Linked DNA regions of Homo sapiens: region 2 is linked to region 1. The links are contacts of gene promoters, found by promoter capture Hi-C in blood cells and fetal thymus (Javierre and others, 2016). All regions are on one chromosome and are shown on one strand. Each heading gives the region's core, a stretch centred on a gene start or on the middle of the fragment in contact. The rest is flanking DNA. Distances are from core to core; before and after follow the strand shown. Region 1 holds the start of DDX51 (DEAD-box helicase 51). Region 2 overlaps POLE (DNA polymerase epsilon, catalytic subunit).

What was found. Contacts are between HindIII fragments. The CHiCAGO score rates a contact against its expected background, and 5 or more counts as called.
Region 2: a contact is called between a fragment that was not itself captured here and the fragment with the promoter of DDX51 in region 1, in 1 of 17 cell types (M0 macrophages). The highest score is 6.0, in M0 macrophages.

What each region holds. Positions count from the first base shown.
Region 1 is chr12:132,141,846-132,145,936 of GRCh38, reverse strand. It overlaps DDX51 (DEAD-box helicase 51), which reads left to right and starts at 1,618. Exons shown (of 15, transcript NM_175066.4): 1 at 1,618-1,944; 2 at 2,028-2,242; 3 at 3,059-3,209; 4 at 3,515-3,660; 5 at 3,747-3,818; 6 at 3,981-4,087. The coding sequence starts at 1,641. NOC4L (nucleolar complex associated 4 homolog) reads right to left here and starts at 1,480. Exons shown (of 15, transcript NM_024078.3): 1 at 1,332-1,480; 2 at 963-1,083; 3 at 272-378. The coding sequence starts at 1,448. RefSeq lists enhancers at 1,398-1,697, 2,627-3,532 and silencers at 1,708-1,757, 1,828-2,027. The HindIII fragment of the contact is 30,339 bases long and covers 1-4,091 here.
Region 2 is chr12:132,648,034-132,652,336 of GRCh38, reverse strand. POLE (DNA polymerase epsilon, catalytic subunit) reads left to right here. Exons shown (of 49, transcript NM_006231.4): 30 at 2,448-2,660; 31 at 2,822-3,031; 32 at 3,265-3,408. Among named protein-coding and RNA genes, the nearest start is that of P2RX2, 31 kb to the right of the region's middle. The HindIII fragment of the contact is 6,987 bases long and covers 1-4,303 here.

The DNA.
Region 1 (4,091 bases), core at 369-2,868:
CTGGCACGAGGCTTGGTGTGCGTGCTCTATGCAAACACAGAGATCCCCGTGGATGCCACTGGAAATGAACACGGATTCTGCGTCTTCAATATTCACTACAGGACTCGATAGCCATGTTTCTGAATGGGACTGAACACCCACAGGGTGATGCTCCCATGAAGGAAGCAGCTTTGCCTGGACAATTGTGGGAGCCCCAGACCTCTGCTTTGTGGATAACCTGGGAGTTGGGGTGCAGGGGATGGACAAGGATGAGGCCAGCCCAATGACCCACCTTGACCTGAAAGGAGGGGTGGCCCAGGAGCTCTCCCAAGCGATTGCAGCAGCTGTGATAGCGGTGTCTCATCCACACCTTGTACTTCCGTGTGGCTCCCTGGGACCCTGCAGACAGGTTAGGGTGGTCAGCCCACGTGAGGCCCACATACGCCACCCTGGGCCCAGCCCAAAATCTCAGGCCTGGCTCCACCCTCCCATTGTCTTCTACTCAGCCTCCGCAGGTGGAAACAGGTCGCTAAGGCCCCCAGACCTGTGCTGAGACCAGCACATTCCCTGAGCCCTGCAAACAGGAAGAGCACCTCCTACCCCAGGACTGCCCCAGCCAAGCTGCCAGGAGCAGGATCCACATCCCCTCTCTTTACTCCAAGACCTGACGTCCCCAGGATGGGGACATAAAGGAAGCTCCGAGTTTAAGCGACCGTGTCAGGATCAGTCAACATCAAATTACAAAAGGGGTGCAAAGCACACAAAAAGTCGTACCTTGTCCAGTGTTCATCTACACTCAGCTGCAGGGCACCCATGTCACCCCTGCCCCAACGCCACCATCCATCTTCCACGGTGGGCTTGGTGCGTCCTCCCACCAGCCTGCACGGCCTGTGCCAGGGTTGGGGGCGCTCATCCCATGGTGACAAAGCCTCCCTCCGACCCACGGAAAGAGAAGAGCAGCCCCGGGGCCCTCCAGGGCTCACCTGTCATGACCATCTCCTCAGAGGGCAGCTGGCCCACAAACAGCTCTCCCCGCTCCAGCAAGGCCCCGAAAAGACGGCTGCACGTGCGGACTGCTTCCTGGATCTCCTCCTGGTCCTCAGACTGCAGGAGAGGCGGCGGCAGGGTGCCCGGCCGCCAACTGTCACCTTCGCCCCTGCCTAGGCTGCCCCCAACCCGTTCCCTTCCCCCTCGGGACGCCAGCCCCGTCACCCCCGACCCGTGACCCACACGCCTCCCACCCTGACCCCCCAACGCCGTCTCGGAACCTCCTGGGGACCTGCCGCCGCAGCCCCCCATTCAAGTCCCGCTCCCGTGCCGCGACTCCGGCCCTGCGACGCCGCCAGGCCCACCTGCAGCACGGCCAGGATGTCGAACACGGCGTTGGCCTCACTGCGGCTCGCCAGCACCGCCTCCAGCCGGCGGCCCAGAGCCCGGCGAACTCCCGCGGCGCCCGGCTCCCGCTCCATGCCGCCCCCAACACGGAACAACGCGGATTCTCAGCCGCCGGCGCTCCCGTGACGTCACCACTGCGCGTAGAACCCGACGTCATCTCTACGCGCCGTACCCCAACCCCATCTTTTGCGCGGAGCCCGAGTCGCAGGCGTGCCGCCGACGTCATCGCAGCGCGCCACGCCCGAGTCCCAGGCGTGCGGCTGGCCATGGCGCTGTTCTACGTCGCGCGGTACCCGGGCCCCGATGCGGCAGCTGCGGCGGGGCCGGAGGGCGCGGAGGCCGGGGCGCACGGCAGGGCCCGCGCGCTGCTCGAGCGGCTGCAGAGCCGGGCCCGCGAACGGCAGCAGCAGCGGGAGCCCGCGCAGACCGAGGCGGCTGCATCGACCGAGCCGGCGACCAGGAGGCGACGGCGGCCCCGGCGGCGGCGGCGGGTGAACGACGCGGAGCCGGGGAGCCCGGAGGCGCCGCAGGGAAAGCGACGGAAGGCGGACGGCGAGGACGCGGGCGCAGGTGGGCCGCGGGGCGAGCGGGCTCCCTCTGGGGCGCCGGCGACTCGGTGCTGACGCGCTGCCGGGTGGGTGTCTGCCTCGCAGAAAGCAACGAGGAGGCGCCAGGGGAGCCCAGCGCAGGGAGCAGCGAGGAGGCGCCAGGGGAGCCCAGCGCAGGGAGCAGCGAGGAGGCGCCGGGGGAGCGCAGCACCAGCGCCAGCGCCGAGGCGGCCCCAGATGGACCGGCCCTGGAGGAGGCGGCCGGACCCCTGGTCCCCGGCCTGGTGCTGGGGGGGTTCGGGAAGAGGAAGGCGCCGAAGGTGAGCCTCGGCGGGCGGGAGGGTGGTCGGCGTGAGAGGGTAGGCTGCGCGGATTCTTAAGTGCGGCGGTCGCCCCGGAAGATTTCGTTCAGCGAATGTTCCCGGGTCACAGCCGCGCCTCGCTGCCAGGTCTGCAGTTTCATCGCCTAGGGGTCTGGATCCTGCACGTGCAGAGCTCCCGTTTCCTCTGCTAGGCTTGCCCCTGTCCTCCCGCCGCGCCGCGCCAGTTCTGCAAGATGTGTTTGCGTGAACGTGCGGGGTTTCCTGCTGTGCGCTCACCGCCTCAGGAGTAAGTCAGAGGCCGTTCTGCAAGCTCCTGACCGTTGGTGTTTTTGCTTAGCACGTGTGGTTTTCGGTAAAGAGATTTCCGGCGAGACAGGTGAAGAAAGCGAGAAGTTTGACAGAGTGCTCGGGCACCTTAGGTAGGGCAGGTGGAGGAGGTTCTCTTTGAGTTGGGATGCAAAGACTTGAAGCCAGGTCAAGGTTGGGGGTTGGGGGTGCCAGGCAGAGGCCTCGAGGCAGGGACGCCGGCGTGGCTGGGGCAGGCGAGCGCCAGGTCACAGGACCTCCTGGCTGCGGGAGGGTGGGTGCCACTGTGGGTTGATGGGAGGCTACAGAGTGAGTTTGCTCAGGGAGTGGCATCTGCTTTTACTGTTTAACTTCTGAAGGCTGTATGGAAAGCGCATCCTGGGGCTGAGAAGGAGCTGAAGACGACAGAGGTTTCCCCAGCCTCCCTCCCCTAGCTTTTTCCACCGTGGGCTTCTGCGCGAGAGCCTGGAAAGCGCTCACCTGGCCTCTCTTTCTTTTTGATGGCAGGTCCAGCCTTTCCTGCCAAGGTGGCTGGCTGAGCCTAACTGTGTCAGAAGGAATGTCACCGAAGACCTGGTTCCTATCGAGGACATCCCTGACGTCCATCCTGACCTGCAGAAGCAGCTGCGGGCACACGGCATCTCGTCCTACTTTCCAGGTGCCCCAGCCCCGGGCAGGCAGCTGAGGGAACACCTCCCTGGGCACCCACACACAAGGCTGTGAGTGGCCGTGGGTCAGGCGTCCCTGCCACATCGGTGCCAAGTGTGGTCTCAGCACTCTCAAGCTCATGGTTCCCACTTGGGTCTCCTGAGGCTGGCGTTCCTCTGGGCCTTGGTGCCATCCCTCTGGGGAGCGGTTCCCAGGCCTCCAGCAGAGCAGCCCAGCCCAGAGGTCACAGGCAGGGAAGCGGCAGGCCTAGGCCTAGGCGTAAACACGACTTCTCTCTCGCCTTTCCTCATCCAGTCCAGGCAGCTGTGATTCCTGCCCTCCTGGAGAGCGCAGCCTGTGGGTTTCTGGTGGGCAGAGGTGGCTACCGGCCTAGCGACCTCTGTGTTTCTGCCCCAACAGGCAGTGGGAAGACACTGGCCTTCGTCATCCCTGTGGTGCAGGTCTGTGTGAGGGTCCCCTTTCTCTACAGCGGGTGTGCAGAGGACAGGTAACAGCCTTGCTGACGCAGGCGCTCCTTCCCCCTCAGGCCCTGCTTTCGAGAGTGGTCTGCCACATCCGTGCCCTGGTTGTGCTGCCCACCAAGGAGCTGGCCCAGCAGGTATGTGGACCCTAGACCTGGAGCGTGGCACCGCCCGCCTCAGCTTCCCTGCTGAGTGCACAGCGATCAGCCCCTGGGGGACCCAGATTAGATCTGGGGTCCTTTTTGCTGCAGTAGGTGGACACCAGCTACCTCCAGGCCAGTGACAGACTTCTCCTGCAGGTGAGCAAAGTTTTCAACATCTACACAGATGCCACACCTCTGAGAGTCTCCCTGGTTACGGGACAGAAGTCTCTGGCCAAGGAGCAGGAGAGCCTCGTCCAGAAAACGTAG
Region 2 (4,303 bases), core at 1,643-4,142, 510 kb before region 1:
AAAAAAAAAAAAAAAAAAAAAAGGAAACTACAATCTTTGGTAAACAACTCAGGAGACTATGATGCTGGGGTGGGAAGGGCTTTTTTAAGGCACATGTGAAAAACATCACAAAGGGAAAGAATGATCAATTAATTAAAAGTTAAATCTTGTGTAGTCTGTGACAAGAAAGGCAGAATGTTGATAATTGTTGACACTGGTGATAAGAACATGGGAGCTCATTACTGTGCTTTCGTGTATGTTTGAAAACTTTCCTGATAGGAAGTCAACACACACAAACTTACATGTAGCACAGAAGTCACCATGAAACAAAGGCCTGAGTCACATTTTGAAGATGTTTAGAATGTATAAAAGTTAGAAATGGCTCATAAACGTGTTAGCTATCTATTGCTGCATAGCAAGTAACCCCAAAACTTAGCAACTTAAATGCACTCGTGTATCCGAGGGCTCCACTGGAGAAGGAGCCACTTCCGAGCTCCCTCCCATGGGGATGGCAGGACTCGGTTCCTCCTTGGCCTTTGTCTGGACGTTATCCTTAGTCCCCTGCTCCATGGGGCTCTTCACAGGACAGCTCACAGCATGGCACTGGACTTTTGAGAGAGTGCCAGCCAGGCAGAAGCCACAGTGTTTTATAGCTGCTCTCAGGAGTGGCATTCCATGACTTTTGCTGGAATCTGTTCATTACGGGCAAGTCACCGGGTCCCACCCCCACTCAGGGAAGGAGTCACACAGGGTGTGAACACCAGGAAGTGGGGGTCGTTGGGCCATTTTGGGAGCTGCCTGCACAGGGCCAAGATGTTCAGCCTTACTGTTGATGAGGTAAATGCAGCATGATGTATTTAGATAGCAGGTCACACTGAAGGCAAGTAAGTGTGGTGGCATCAAGTAGCAAGATTGTGGGAAGTAGGAAATCCCTGGTGCTAGAGGTGGAGGTGGTTGTTCTCCGGGACCAGGCAACACATACAGAGATGGTCATTGAGTCACAGTTTGTAGTTTTGAAAAAGTAGGCGCTTGTCATTCTTCATTTGCAAAGTCATGGGTAGGTAGGCTGATGTGTTTATATGATAAATCATTTCACATCAGTTACAATGAACGAACCATATGTGCATGTTTCACCCGGTGTCAGTCTCAAAAATACATGGCTGAATAAAGAAACAAGTTGCAGGGACAGGCATGTGGCTCACGCCTGTAATCTCAACACTTTGGAAGGCTGAGGTGGGTGGATCACTTGAGGTCAGGAGTTCGAGACCAGCCTGGCCAACATGGTGAAACCCCATCTTTACTAAAAATACAACAAAAAATTAGCCGGGCTTGGTGGCAGGTGCCTGTAATCCTAGCTTCTTGGGAGGCTGAGGCAGAATTGCTTGAACCCAGGAGGCGAGGTTGCAGTGAGATGAGATCGTGCCATTGCGCTCCAGCCTGGACAACAGAGTGAGATTCTGTCTCAAAAAAAAAAAAAAAAAAAAAGGAAACAAGTTGCAGTCAGATGTGTCCCACATGTTACTATTTAGGTTAAAACTTACAGCTGTGGCATGTGTCTGTGGACATGTGGTAAAAATTTAAAGGTGTGTGGGGGCAGACAGAAGAGGGCTGTACCCATTATTTGCAATATTTTCTTTCTTACAAAAAGCATTCTGGAGCAAACATGGCAAAATGCAAAGATTTACTTATTGGTGGTATTGAGTGACGTTTTATTTTTCGGTTTGATCTTTTCACTTTTTTTTTGAAAGAGGGTCTCACCCTCTCGCCCAGGCTGGAATGCAGTGGCGCAACCTTGGCTCACTGCAACCCCTACCTCCTAGGCTCAAGTGATCCTTCCACCTCAGCCTCCCAAGTAGCTGGGACCACAGGCCCACACAACCACACCCAGCTAATTTTTCTATTTTTTGTAGAGACGGAGTTTCACCATGTTGGCCAGGCTAGTCTCAAACTCCTGGGCTCAAGTGATCCGCCCACCTCAGCCTCTCAAAGTGCTGGGATGACAGGCGTGAGCCACCACACCCGGCCTTCACTATTAAAGGTTCAATAAACTTGTGTAAACGAACATCCCATTTCAGGTGATATACTTATACTAGATTTCGAGAAGTAGAATTTGTGGGGATGAGATCCTGAGATTTTTGTTTGCTTGTTTTTATGAGGCAAGGTCTCACTTGCCCAGGCTGGAGTTCAGTGGTGTGATCATAGTTCGCCGCAGCCTCCAACTCCTGGGTTCAAGTGATCCTCCTGCCTCAGCCTACCAAGTAGCTTGGGACTACAGGCGCACTACCACGCCTGGCTAATTTGTAATATATTTTGTAGAGACAGGGTCTTGCTGTTACCCAGGCTGGTCTCAAACTCCTGGCCCCAAGCAATTCTCCTGTCTTGGCCTCCCAAAGTGCTGGCATTCCAGGCATGAGCCACCCTGCGCAGCCCGAGATCCTGAGATTTAAGGCTTCACTGGGTCTTTCCAGGTCACGATGGCCGAGGCCTCAGAAGACAGTCCGAGGCCAAGTGCTCCTGACATGGAGGACTTCGGCCTCGTAAAGCTGCCTCACCCAGCAGCCCCTGTCACTGTGAAGAGGAAGCGAGTTCTTTGGGAGAGCCAGGAGGAGTCCCAGGACCTCACGCCGACTGTGCCCTGGCAGGAAATCTTGGGGCAGCCTCCCGCCCTGGGAACCAGCCAGGTAAGGCACACAGCTGTGATACTGTCTGTCTCTGAGGGGTCTGCACAGCCCAGGGAGCCCGAGATGCGTCCTGACCCCTAGGGAGGCTGCTTGTGAGAAAGTCATGGCGGGCATTCCCATCTCACCACTTGCACACTGGCTGTGCTCACCATCCATCCCAGGAGGAATGGCTTGTCTGGCTCCGGTTCCACAAGAAGAAGTGGCAGCTGCAGGCCCGGCAGCGCCTCGCCCGCAGGAAGAGGCAGCGTCTGGAGTCGGCAGAGGGTGTGCTCAGGCCCGGGGCCATCCGGGATGGTCCTGCCACGGGGCTGGGGAGCTTCTTGCGAAGAACTGCCCGCAGCATCCTGGACCTTCCGTGGCAGATTGTGCAGGTATAGACCTTGATCCAAGGGGAGGGCAGTGGCTCTGCTGATGGCCCAGGGAGGGGGTGTCCAGCTGGGCCCTGAGGTCTGGGATGGGAGGGTTAGAGTGGGCCTGGAGTTTCCTGCCCATCGTAGGGAGGCCTAAGGCCCTGTGCTGGGAGCTGCAAGCTACCTGGAAGGTGGCCCCGTCTGTGGGTTCCAGTGTGTCCTGTGATGTGCTGTATGTCCGTGTGGCCTTTCAGATCAGCGAGACCAGCCAGGCCGGCCTGTTCAGGCTGTGGGCGCTCGTTGGCAGTGACTTGCACTGCATCAGGCTGAGCATCCCCCGTGTGTTCTACGTGAACCAGCGAGTCGCTAAAGCGGAGGAGGGTGCTTCGTATCGCAAGGTAGGGAGGAGCTGGTGCTGCCTCTGCAGTCATCTGGGCAGCCTGAGGTGGCTTTCCCATGATCTAGCCTGGCCTCCAGCCTCCATCTCCTCAGTACCTTATGGGGATGTTCTAGGAATTCCTCAAAACAACGTGTGTGAGCGCTGAGCACCGAGCCTGGGGCAGAGCGAGTGCCGGGAATGGAGCTGCTGGTGTCCTTGTCACGATGAGCTTGTCTGCCCGCGAGGTCCATGTTGCGGGGACAAACCAAGTGGCATTGGTTAGAGATTGTGAACTCTGTCTCCGTAGGCTCTTTGGTTGTTAACAGCTTTATTGGGATGTAAAGTTACGCCATCCAACTCACCCATTTAAAGTGCAGAATTCAATGACTTTTAGTGGCATGACTATTGCCAGTCAATAGTGACATTTTCTTTTTTTTTCTTTTTTTTAATTTTACTTTGATTTCTGGGATCCATGTGCAGAAAGTGCAGGTTTGTTACATAAGTAAGCACATGCCATGGTGGTTTGCTGCACCCATCACCCCGTCACCTGGGCATTAGGCCCCACATGCATTAGCTGTTTATCCTGATATTCCCCCTCCCCTCACCCCCCCATTCGGATATTTTCATCACTCCAAAAAGAAACCTGGCATCCCTTACCTGTCACCATCCTCCCCCAGCCCTCAGTAGCCACTGATCCACTTCCTGTCTCTGGGTTTGCCTGTTTGGGCATTTGATGTAAATGGAACCCTACAGTAGGTGGGTCTTTGTGCTGGGCTTCTTCCACCTGCAGAAACTGCGAGGGTTTTCATGTGGCCATGAGTGCGCTGAGGCTCTTAGATGGCATCTCCACCCGAACTCCCCGTTGTTAATGTGTCGGCTCAGCACATTTCTTGACTGGATGCTGTGAATCACGT